Regions from separate parts of the Homo sapiens genome. Here region 1 is linked to region 2. Evidence: promoter capture Hi-C in human tissues and cell types (Jung and others, 2019). All regions are on one chromosome and are shown on one strand. Each heading gives the region's core, a stretch centred on a gene start or on the middle of the fragment in contact. The rest is flanking DNA. Distances are from core to core; before and after follow the strand shown.

The links. Contacts are between HindIII fragments. The study calls those that stand out against the background at their distance.
Region 1: a contact is called between a fragment that was not itself captured here and the fragment with the promoter of L3MBTL2 in region 2, in 1 of the 25 tissues and cell types used here (hippocampus).

The regions. Positions count from the first base shown.
Region 1 is chr22:40,627,460-40,633,453 of GRCh38, reverse strand. All of the region lies in intron 1 of MRTFA (myocardin related transcription factor A), which reads left to right. Among named protein-coding and RNA genes, the nearest start is that of MRTFA, 6.3 kb to the left of the region's middle. The HindIII fragment of the contact is 9,289 bases long and covers 23-5,994 here.
Region 2 is chr22:41,200,443-41,207,216 of GRCh38, reverse strand. L3MBTL2 (L3MBTL histone methyl-lysine binding protein 2) reads right to left here and starts at 1,905. Exons shown (of 17, transcript NM_031488.5): 1 at 1,831-1,905. The coding sequence starts at 1,854. RefSeq lists an enhancer at 561-1,061. The HindIII fragment of the contact is 28,306 bases long and covers 1-2,043 here.

The sequences.
Region 1 (5,994 bases), core at 3,418-5,917, 580 kb after region 2:
GGGAAATTTAGAATTTTTAAGTTGTATTAACAAAGATCGTTGTATTATATTTCGAGAAAACACTGTGGCAAGCTCATATACTACTGTAAGCTCCCCAGGGGTGAGGATATTTGTTTTTCTTCCCAGCTTCAAAGGCAGTTCTTGGGACATAGCAGGTGCTCAGTAAATATTTCTTGAATATAAGATGAACATGAACAAATATATATTTACTCCGTGTTCTTGTGTGTGTATATATATTCACATAAATGCTAGGGTTGATAGTTGCAATTGACAAACATAAGAAACATTTCTTTACTGAGAAAAAGCTTTGGTCAGGAGGTTATATTTCAGGTTTTTGAAAGAGAAAAGAGAAAACATTGATGGGTTATGGATGAAGTGGTATAGGCTTGGGGAGTAGTTTTTTATAAATGAATACATTTTGGAAGAAGGGGGACATTGAACAAAGAGAATGACCCACTGACACAATTCAGCAAATATGGGCGCTGTTTATGTCTAAGGCTTTAATAGAGTTTTGAGAATCAAGGAAATAGTCTCCGCTCTCAAGGAAATTAGAGTTTTGGAGAGCGGGTGTGTTAACTGTCTTCCTGTGTAACAGATTACCTCGAAAGTTAGTGTTTAAGACAACATTTCTTATTTTTCACAGTTTCTGTGAGTCAGGAATTTGGAATCAGCTTGGCTGAGTGATTCAAACTCAGGTCTCTCAAAAAATTGCAATAATGGCTGGGCACGGTGGCTCACACATGTATTCTCAGCATTTTGGGAGGCTGAGGCAGGTGGATCCCTTGAGGTCAGGAGATCGAGACCAGCCTGGCCAACATGGGGAAACCCCGTCGCTACTAAAAATACAAAAATTAGGTAGGTTTGGTGATGCACGCCTGTAGTCCCAGCTACTCAGGAGGCTAAGGCATGAGAATCACTTGAACCTGGGAGGCGGAGGTTGCAGTGAGCCAAGATTGCACCACTGCACTCCAGCCTGGGCGGCAGAGTATCTAAAAAAAAAAAATTATCTGGGAGTGGCAGCCCATGCCTGTAATCCCAGCTACTCAGGAGGCTGAGGCATAAGAATTGCTTGAACCAGGGAGGTGGAGGTTGCAGTGAGCTGAGATCGTGCCACTGCACTCCAGCCTGGGTGACAGAGCAAAACTGTCTCAAAAAAAAAAAATTGCAGTAATATGTCAGCTGAGGTAGCAGTCATCTGAAGGCTTGACTGAGGCTGGTGAATCCTTTTTCAAGGTGGCTACTCATATTGCTGGCAGGTTGGTGCAGGCTGTTGGTGGGAGATCTCAATTCCTCTTCATGTGGGCCTCTCCGCATGAATGCCTTCATGGCATGGCAGCCAGCTTGCCTCAGAGCATGTAATACAAAAGACCAAGCTGCTGCATTGACTTTTATGACCTAGCTTCAGAAGTCACATACCATCATTTTTCCAGTATTCTGTTGGCCACACATTGTGGGAAGGGACTACACAAGAATGTAAATGGCAGGAGGTGAGGGTCATTGGGGGCCATCTTGGAGGCTGGCCACGACAGTGGGTAAAGTAGAAAATGTTGAAAAGAAGGTACTGAAGTTCTGAAGTAGGGGAGAGGGGAGGACTCAGAGTAGGAAAGATTACCTTTGGAGGAATGAAGGAATGGGAAAAATTTAATTCCTTTATCAGATATTTATAAATATTTATTGTGTGTTTACTATGTACCTTTCACATGGAGGCTAATATGTGGAGGTAGACACTAAATTAGGTTCACATGAAATGTTTTAAGTAATTTAGGCCAGTGTTGACATAAGGAAAAATATTTGAAATCTATGTGTATGGTGAAGGTGGAGTCATTTTTTTTTATATTGATGAAAACAGTAACTTAGTGATAGATGAGCAGTTACACAGCATAAGTAGTTAACATAAATACTAGAGTCATACTGCATAGATCGGAATCCTGGCTCTACTTGCCGGCCGTGTGTATGAACTTGGACTGTGTGACTATGATACTCTTGCTACTTTATATTCTCTGTGACTCACTAGCTGTAAAATGGGGATAAAAATGGGGCCTGCTTCATATTGTTGCTGTGAGGATTAAATAAAAATATATAAAGTCCTTGGAACAGCTTTACATGCATGTCATTATCATGGTTATTATGATCATCATTGGTTTTGGGCAGTAGCGTAGAACTGACTGGGTGAATTAGTTTGGAGTCAGAGAGATGAATGAATATAGACTGATATGAGTATGCAGAAGGAGGCATTTAAATGTTAACCATTGCTGCTTCACCATCAATTTTTCTATGTCAAGTACCTACATCTAGATAATTTTTATTTTACAAAGTAGAGTGAACCAGTGGCTTTATTTAGGTGAATTCCACAGTTAAAATAAGACCCAAGGAGGTGCACAAGTTGCCATTAAGGGTGTCTCTTACCATCTTGTATCTTTGAATTTACTGGGCTCTCTGTCTGTAGAATGGGTTTAGCTGGAAGCAGTACTTAAAAGAGCATGTGCTTCACAAGAGCTAGGGCCCATAATAAAAATACCTAGAATGAGAACCTGTGTGGCTGAGTTTGAGGGACAAGGTTAACCTGGAGGGAATTTCAAAGGTATAGGCCTGGTACTGTGGCTCATGCCTATAATCCCAGCCATGTGAGAGGCTGAGACAGGAGGATTGCTTGAGCCCAGGAGTTTGAGGCTGCAATGAGCTGTGATCACACCACTGTGCTCCAGCCTGGTTAACAGATGAGACACTGTCTCAAGTAAATAAATAAATTAGAAAGTTAATTATAAGAAACTTCTAAATCTGGAGTATAGAAGTTTAGGAATTCAAAGGACGGATTTTGTGAAACTGCATCAGTTTAGATAAACTCTTTAGAGGCAGTAGTGATCTTCCTAATGAAGATGACTTCCATTTTACTACTTTAGGAAGTAGATTTGTTACGTCGAAAGGAAAGGAAATAGAAATGGATTCAGCTTTCTCCAAGTTGAAGTCTGAAATCTCTGATTTTGTACAACAGAAAAACGATTCTGTTGACTTAAAAACTGCCCAGGTGTTTTTTTGTTTGTTTCTTTTGTTTTGTTTTTAAAGAGACAGAGTCTCACTCTGTCATCCAGCTACCACACCCAGGCCTGTACCTTTTATTTTTTTATTTTTATTTTTTGAGAGACAGAGTCTCGTTCTCTTGCCTAGGGTAGAGCACAGTGGTGTGATCATGGCTCACTGCAACTGCCGCCTCCCAGGTTCAAGCGATTCTCCTGCCTCAGCTTCCCAAGTAGCTGGGATTACAGGTATGTGCCACCATGCCCAGCTAATTTTTGTATTTTTTAGTAGAGGCAGGGTTTCACTATATGTTGGCCAGGCTGGTCTCAAACTCCTGACCTCAGGTGATCCGCCTGCCTTGGCCTCCCAAAGCGCTAGGATGATAAGCATGAGCCACCGTGCTTGGCCAGTCCTGTACCTTTTAAATGCCCTCCAGATTAACCTTGTCCCTCAAACTCAGCCACACAGGTTCTCATTCTAGGTATTAGTGTGGGCCCTAGTTCCACCTCTAAGCTCTTGTGAAGCATATGGTGGGATCATAGCTCACTGCAACCTCAAAACTCCTTGTCTTAAGTGATCCTTCTGCCTCTGCCTCCTGAGTAGCTAGGACAACAGCATGTACCACCATGCTTGGCTAATTTTTTTTTTTTTTTTTTTTTTTTTGAGATGGAATCTTGCTCTGTCACCCAGGCTGGAGTGCAGTGGCGGGATCTCGGCTCACTGCAAGCTCCGCATCCTGGGTTCAAGCAATTCTCCTGCCTTAGCCTCCCGAGTAGCTGGGATTATAGGCACCCACCACCACGCCCAGCTAATTTTTTGTATATGTATATATTTTTTTTAGTAGGGACGGAGTTTCACTATGTTGGCCAGGCTGATCTCGAACTCCTGACCTCAGGCGATCCATCCGCCTCGGCCTCCCAAAGTATTGGGATTACAGCGTGAGCCACTGTGCCTGGCCTGCTTGGGTAATTTTTTTTTTTTTAATTATGTTTTGAGACGGAGTCTTGCTCTGTTGACCAGGCTGGAGTGCAGTGGTTCGATCTTGGCTCACTGCAACCTCCGTCTCCCGGGTTCAAGCCATTCTCCTGCCTCAGCCTCCCAGGTAGCTGGGACTACAGGCATGTGCCACCATGCCCGGCTAATTTTTTTGTATTTTTGGTAGAGACGGGGTTTCACCATATTGGACAGGCTGGTCTCAAACTCCTGACTTCAAGTGATCCGCCCGCCTCGGCCTCCCAAAGTGCTGGGATTACACATGTGAGCCACCGCGCCCAGCCTCTGCTTGGCTAATTTAAAAAATTTTTTTTGTAGAGAAGAGAAGAGAGTCTTGCTATATTGCCTAGACTAGTCTCAAATTCCTGGCCACAGCAATCCTCCTGCCTTGGCCTCCCGAAGTGTTGGGATTACAGGTGTGAGCCACCGTGCCTGGCCAAAATTCTTAAAAATACTGAATCCATATCACATGTATGAGGAGAGAAGATAATTACACTCTGTGTCACTGCAGGTGTTAAAGCAGAAATTGGGTGACCTGTCAGGGTGCATTGGGTGGAACTAATTGCTCAAGTTGCCTTCAGTTCTGTGGTTCATGACTCAAGTCCAGTTCTCTCATTGTTTAGTGGGAGGAGGCACTGTGAAATTAAATGATTTGAGTTCCACAACAGTCCAGGGGCTGAGCCCAGGCCAGTTCCTCACACAGTATTTAAGGCCGGCTCATATAGCAGTAATAGAAGATCTGTAGAATCCTTGGAAGAAAGAGCGTTGTGAAAATGTCTTTTTTTTTTTTTACTTCCACATTTTTACTTCTGTGGTATGTTTGGTTCATTTGCTCCCCACTCATTCTTATTGATATGCATTTAGAAATCATTCTCTGTGTAAATGAGAGCTTGTAATGAGTAATTTGGCTAGTTCATTTTGAGATCTGGAGTGTGTCCTCTGTTACTGAATTTCTAGATAGGTAGGCTATTTACAGGTCTTTGTCCTCTAAAATTATGAGTGGAAATTATGGGTGATTCTGGTTTTTGAAAATAATTGTTCTTGTATTAAAATTTAAAGCATAATGGGCATAATTCAAACAAAGTTCTGAACTTCATAATATGACAGAGTAAAATATCCAGTGAGGTAACATGTCCATGTCAAGTTTTAGGGCACAGCAGATCTGGGTACTGACAGTTACCAGGTATGTGACTGTAGGCTTACTCCTTAACCTTCCTGTGATTCAGCTTCTTCATCTGTAAACTAGAGTTAATAATCCTTACAACATGAGGTCGTTATAAGGATTATGAAGAAATGTAAAGAGGGAAGTAATAGGGGCATCTACTTTATAGTAGACATTGTGCTACCTTATTAATCCTCATATGAACTCTGAAATAAGTGGTAGTAGCAGCATTTTGCAGATGAGCAAAGAGAAGCTTCTAGAGGAACTTCTAGATAACAGGATTTTTGTTGTTGTTTTGCTTTTTTGTTTTTTTTAGACAGAGTCTTGCTTTGTCTTCCAGACATGAGTGTAGTGGCAGGGTCATAGCTCACTGTGTCCTCAAACTCCTGTAACCTCAAACTGCTGAAGCAGTTCTCCTGCATAACTAGGACTATAGGCGTGTGCCATCATGCCCGGCTAAATTTTTTTGTGCAGGCGGGGTGTCACAGTGTTCCCCAGGCTGATCTTGAACTCTTGCCCTCACGCTTTGACCTCCTAAACTGTTGAGATGACAGGCATGAGCCGCTGTGCCTGGCCAGGATTTGAATCCAGATCTGTTTTTGAATTAAATAATTCTGGCTTCCTACCATGATGTATATGAAGTTCCTAACTTTGCCTCTAGTAAATGTCTTTTCGTGTTCAGTGTCTTTTGCATAGTTAGCGAAAATGTCAGTTATAGTGAGAACTCTTTGTAGTAGTAATCAAGATGTTATAGCTCAGAAAATATTCTGTGCGGTATTCATTATATGTATCTGGTTGCCATTCCTGAGGTGGAAAACTATAAT
Region 2 (6,774 bases), core at 656-3,155:
AGACGATACAGGCAAAGCTCTCAGAATAGTGACTTGCATATAGTAAGTGCTCAATAAAGGTTGCCAATTTTTACTGGTTGAAAGCATAGGCTCTGATTTGCCTGAGTTTGAATCCTGGCTCTAACATTTATTAACTGTGTGATTTTGTGCGTATTTTATCTTGCTGCTGTCATCATTACAAGAGAGGTAATAAGCTTTCTTTAGAGAATTCTTACGAAGATTGAGATAAGATATGTAAAACCTAGTTCTATTTCCAGCAGTCAGTAACAGCTCTAAAAGTGTGACTTGCTATTCTTATTCTCCACATGATTATTCTCGTTTACCCTTGCAGAAAGTTTGAGCTATTCCACCTTATATTTGCAACTACACATGCAAATATGCTAGAAAGGAAGCAATTTTTTTTTTTTTTTGAGACACAGTCTCGCTCTGTCGTCCAGGCTGGAGTGCAGTGGTGCAGTGGCCCGATCTCGGCTCACTGCAAGCTCCGCCTCCCACGTTCACGCCATTCTCCCGCCTCAGCCTCCCGAGTAGCTGGGACTACAGGTGCCTGCCACCACGCCCGGCTAATTTTTTTGTATTTTTAGTAGAGATGGGGTTTCACCATGTTAGCCAGGATGGTCTCGATCTCCTGACCTCGTGATCTGCCCGCCTCGGCCTCCCAAAGTGCTGGGATTACAGGCGTGAGCCACCGCACCCAGCAAGGAAACAATTCAAATATAGGTACCCTTGTCAGGCAGGGTGACAGAGACCACCTATAGTCCCAGCTACTTAGGAGGCTGAGGTGTAAGGATTGCTTGAGCCCAAGAGTTAGAGGCTGCAGTGCGTTGTCATCACGCCTGTGAGTAACCACTGCATTCCAGCCAGGGCAACATAGGAACACCCCGTCTCTTAAATATAAGGTGCCCAGAAACCAAATGATTAAAGGATGAGGCGGGGTGCAGTGGCTCATGCCTGTAATCCCAGCACTTTGGGAGGCCGAGGTGAAGCAGACAGATCACCTGAGGTCAGGAGTTCGAGACCAATCCGACCAACATGGCAAAACCTCGTCTCTACTAAAAATACAAAAATTAGCCGGGTGTGGTGACACATGCCTGTAATCCCAGGAACATGGGAGATGGAGACAGAATTGCTTGAACCCGGGAGACGGAGGTTGCAGTGAGCCGAGATCGCGCCACTGCACTCCAGCCTAGGTGACAGAGCAAGACTCCGTCTGAAAGAAAAAAAAAAAAGGATGAGTGGGTTCCAGGTTGCAGTACAGTGTGAAAAGCATAACAGGCAAAGTTTCAGAGGCGGACAGACTTAGTGCCAATCTCCTTCACTTTCCAGCCGGGGTAACTTCCTGGGGTGTCGCACCACCTCTAAGCCTCAGTGGCTTGAACGACAAAGACGAAAGAATAATACATGATTGCTGTGAGTGTACTGGAAGATAATGCACGTGAACGTTACAGACAAGGAGTGATGTTCACCCAACTTTAATCTCCCTTCACTTCCCACCTCATGTAACAGGCCTCACAAGCCCTAAACAACACAGCCACGAGACAAGCAGGATAAGGAAGATTCAGGAGCTCTCAGATCCTAAACCTAGTTCCCTTTCCCCCAGGCCAGGGACGGCTGTTCCTCCCTGAACTCCTCGCCGAACGTTGGCCCCAGCAGGAGAGGGGCAAAAAGTAACGTCAATTGCCTCTGCCCCTGGCTCAGTTTAACTACCTCAGTTTATCCATCCTCCCACCCTCCACCCTCCAGGCGTCGCTAAAAGCCCTAAAGAAGGGCCCACGGAGCGAGGCTCTCGGAGTTCCCTTTCCCAGTCACGCTAAGTCCTCGCCTTCTCACCTCAATACTCCGGGGCTTCTCCATGAGACCTCAGTTTCGCCAAGCGTCACCAGGTGCAGGAAGCCATATTGGCCTGCCCCGTCGCTCTCCGCGAGAGCACTCATTGGTCGCCTCCCTGAGCCGCGGGCCAATCACGCTGCAGGAAGGAGGAAAAGCCGGTTCCGTGCCTGCTCCCGCCATTCTCTCCCTGTGGGCGGGGAAGCCGCGGGCGGTTATGGGAATTGTAGTTCGCATGTGTGCAGGGTGAGTCGTTACCATAGCGACGTGGAAACCAGGGGCGCTGGAAACCTGGTGCGCCTCACGCCGAGTGTTCCAATTACGCCAACCTCTTGACTTCACTGGATGTTATTCTTCCCTAAACGGTTATTGAGCACCTATGATAGTCACTGTTCCAGACTCCAGGAATAACCTCGTACTCTCCCGGGTTAGATATTTAAGGTGCCCTTTTGCTGGGATGCATAGCAGAGGGACTCATTTCCAACTCAGGCAGAAACTGGACTACTCCAGATTAAAAAGAAAAAAAAAAGGAAGAAACTGGAATACTCTGTGTGTGTGTGTGTGTGTGTGTGTGTGTGTGTGTGTGTGTGTGTGTGTGTTTTCTTGAGACGAAGTCTTGCCCTGTCGCCCAGGCTGGAGTGCCGTGGCGCGATCTCGGTTCACTGCAACCTACGCCTGCCAGGTTCAAGCGATTCTCCTGCCTCAGCCTCCCAAGTAACTGGGACTACAGGCGCCCACCACCAAGCCCGGCTAATTTTTGTATTTTTTAGTAGAGACGGGGTTTCACCAGGCTGGTCTTGAACTCCTGACCTCGGGATCCACCCGCCTCGGCCTCCCAAAGTGCTGGGATTACAGGCGTGAACCACCGCGCCCGGCTGAAACTGGAATATTCTTTTTCTCAATACTGTAAATGTCCAGCCTGCTCAAAATCTTACAACATTCCTCCTTCACCACTCTCTCCTGGGTAAAAACCTCGAATCTGAGGCTCTCTGCCTCATCCCGTTAGGGTTTCCCACAACCTCCTTAGACACCCTGAGTTCTAGGTGCTGTTGTGGAGCTTTGCAAACATCTTTTCAAACCCTTAGACATCCTATCACCGTTTGAAAGAAGAGGAAGTGGTGGCTCTTCACCACTTCAGGTTTAGGCACTTTCCAAGATCACACAGGATTGGGATTCCAAATTTAGTACAGATTCCTTCCCTATGCCATGCCGTGTCCCAGTGAATTAATTGAGACTCTAAATGCAATATGTGGAGGCTGAATACATATAAAATATATGCCTAAATTTGAAGTCCGCCGTGGAGATGTCAAACTCTTCCTAGAGGTCTTTCTTTCCTTCAACCCCTTCCACCCTAAACCCCTGTATCCATGCTGTCAACGTGTTGGTTTTTCTACCTCCAAAATATATCCTGTATTTCCTCCACCACTACCACTCTAATACAAGCCACCGGCCCATTGCAGCAGCCCTTCAACTGGTCACCCTTTCTTTCTTTCTTTTATTGATTGATTGATTGATTGAGATGGAGTCTCCCCTGTCGCCCAGGCTGGAATGCAGTGGGATCTCCACTCACTGCAACCTCCACCTCCTGTGGTCACCCTTTTTAAATCTTCACCTTTAATACACACAGGTGATCTTTAAAACTCATTGACCTGGCCGGGTGCAGTGGATCACGCCTGTAATCCCAGCACTTTGGGAGGCCAAGATGGACAGATCACAAGGTCAGGAGATCGAGACCAGCCTGGCCAAGATGATGAAACCCTATCTCTACTAAAAATACAACTATTAGCTGGGTGTGATGACGGGTGCCTGTAATCCCAGCTACTTGGGAGGCTAAGGCAGGAGAATCGCTTGAACAAGGGAGTCAGAGGTTGCAGTGAGCCGAGATTGCACCACTACACTCCAGCCTGGGCAACAGAGCAAGACTCCATCTCAAAAAATAAAAATAAAAATAAATGTTCTGGAATAAGATAGTGGTGAAAAAAAAAGAAAAAGACAGGTTGGTTCAGCAAGTGCAAAGGCCACATTGGTGGAACAGCAAGTGCAAAGGTCCTGGGGCCAACTCAAGCTTGGTATGCAATAAACAGAAAGACAGAGAGAGTAGATGGATATAGCAAAACATGGAGAGGGTGATACAAGATGAGGTTTGAGAGAAAGCTGAGACCAGGTCATTCAGGGTCTTGTGGAGTGCTTGGATTTTATTCTGTGCAAGGGAACGGCATTAGAGTTTTTTTGTTTGTTTGTTTTTGAGACAGAGTTTCACTCTTGTTGCCCAGGCTTGAGTGCAATGGCGCGATCTCGGCTCATCACAACCTCTGCCTCCCAGGTTCAGGCAATTCTCCTGCCTCAGCCTCCCAAGTAGCTAGGATTACAGGCATGCACCACCACACCTGGCTAATTTTTTTTTTTTTTTTTTGTATTTTTAGTAGAGATGGGGTTTCTCCATGTTGGTCAGGCTGGTCTCGAACTCCCGACCTCAGGTGATTCGCCCACCTGGGCAAATGGTCTTGATCGCCTGACCTCGTGATCCGCCTGCCTTGGCCTCCCAAAGTGCTGGGATCACAGGCCTGAGCCACTGTGCCCAGCTAAAAATTTTTTAAAATTAGCTAAGTGTAGTGGCATGTACCTGTGGTCCCAGATACTCTGGAGGCTGAGGAGGGAGGATTGCTTGAGCCCAGGAGGTTGAGGCTACAGTGAACCATGTTCATGCCACTGCACTCTACCCTGGTGACAGAGAAAAAAAAAAGTTGTCTGGCTGGGCATGGTGGCTCACACCTGTAATCCCAGCACTTTGGGACGCTGAGGCAGGTGGATAACTTGATATCAGGAGTTCTGCCAGACGCGGTGGCTCACGCCTGTAATCCCAGGACTTTGGGAGGCCAAGGTGGGCGGATCACCTGAGGTCAGGAGTTCAAGACCAGCCTGGCCGACATGGTGAAACCCCATCTTTACTAAAAATACAAAAATTAGCCGGGCTTGGTGAGGCATGCCTGTAATCCCAGCAACTCCGGAGGCTGAGGCAGGAGAATCGCTTGAACCTAGGAGGCGGAAGTTGCAGTGAGCTGAGATCGCGCCATTGCACTCCAGCTTGGAAAAAAAACAAAAAAGGAATTCTAGACCACCCTGGCCAACATGGTGAAAACCCTGTGTCAATTAAAAAAAATTACAAAATATTAGCCTGGTGTGGTGGCACAAGCGTATAGTCCCAGCTACTTGGGAGGCTGAGGTGGGTGGATCACTTGAGGTCAGGAGTTTGAGACCAGCCTAGCTAACATGGTGAAACCCCATCTCTACTAAAAATAGAAAAATATTGGCCGGGCACAGTGGCTCATGCCTGTAATCCAAGGACTTTGGAAGGCTGAGGCAGGTGGATCACCTGAGGTCAGGAGTTCGAGACCAGCCTGACCAATATGGTGAAACCCCATCTGTGCTAAAACTACAAAAATTAGCCGGGTGTGGTGACATGCGCCTGTAGTCTCAGCTACTCGGGAGGCTGAGACCGGAGAATTGCTTGAATCAGGGCGGTGGAGGATGCAGTGAGCCGAGATTATGCCACTGTACTCCAGCCTGGGCGACAGAGCAAGATTTTCTCTCAAAAAACAAACAAACAAACAAAAACCAACAACAACAAAAAAGTTGTCTGGGTGGAATAGCACAATGGCAGGGCATAGAGCAGAAGAGGTGAGTTTAAGGGATTTATGTACATAGTTTGGAACAGAAGAGCACGTTTGTGTTGCTATTGGGAGTGATCTAGTAGAGAGAGACAGATCAATGATCCCAGACAGAGGGACAGTGATGCACAGAGGGAGGGCCTTAAAAGAGAGGAGCGTATTAGGTCCACATGTAGAGGGATGAATTAGTCCAGCCAAAAAGGGTACCTTTGCTGCAGGATGAAACCCCTGCCCAGGAGCTCCATAGCAGAAGGAACTGCCACACTGTTACTGTTCTGGGGCGGCCACTATTGCTTAGCAACCTGTGCTTAATAAGATGTTTCAACTGAATTCCTAATAAACGGCCATTTCAACTTACGCCAACGGTTCCTGTCACTGGTGTTCCTGCTCTGCTTATCTCATACGCTGAAACTGGATGCTCAGGTTTTTACTTCCTTGTACTGTTGATGTATGCATTTTTTGCTTTTGTTTTTTTTTTTTCTGGAGACGGAGTTTCGCTCTTGTTGCCCAAGCTAGAGTGCAATGGCGTGATCTCAGCTCACTGCAACGTCTGCTTCCTGGGTTCAAGCGATTCTCCTGCCTCAGCCTCCCGAGTAGCTGGGATTACAGGCATGCGCCACCATGCTAGGCTAATTTTTGTATTTAGTAGAGACGGGGTTTCACCATGTTGGTCAGGCTGGTCTCGAACTCCTGACCTCAGTTAATCCACCAACGTCAGTCTCCCTAAAGAGCTGGGATTACAGGTGTGAGCCACCGTGACTGGCCTAATTTTGTATTTTTAGTAGAGACAAGGTTTCTCCGTGTTGGTCAGGCTGGTCTCGAACTCCCAACCTCAGGTGATCTGCCCGCCTCGGCCTCCCAAAGTGCTGGGATTAGGATTACAGGCGTGAGCCACTGCGCCTGGCTTTTTTTTTTTTTTTTTAAAATAGAGTCTCAGCCCAGCACGGTGCCTCACGCCTGTAATCCCAGCACTTTGGGAGACCGAGGCAGGTGGGTCATGAGGTCAGGAGTTCAAGACCAGCCTGGCCAAGATGGTGAAACACCGTCTCTACTAAAAATACAAAAATTAGCTGGGTATGTTGGTGGGTGCCTGTAACCCCAGCTGCTCAGGAGGCTGAGGCAGAGAATTGCTTGAACCCAGGAGGTGGAGGTTGCAGTGAGCCGAGATCATGCCACTGCACTCCAGCTTGGACGACAGAGTGAGACTCCGTCTCAAAAAAAAAAAAAAAAAAGAAAGAAAGAAAGAAAAGAAACAGAGTCAAGCTCTGTCATCCAGGCT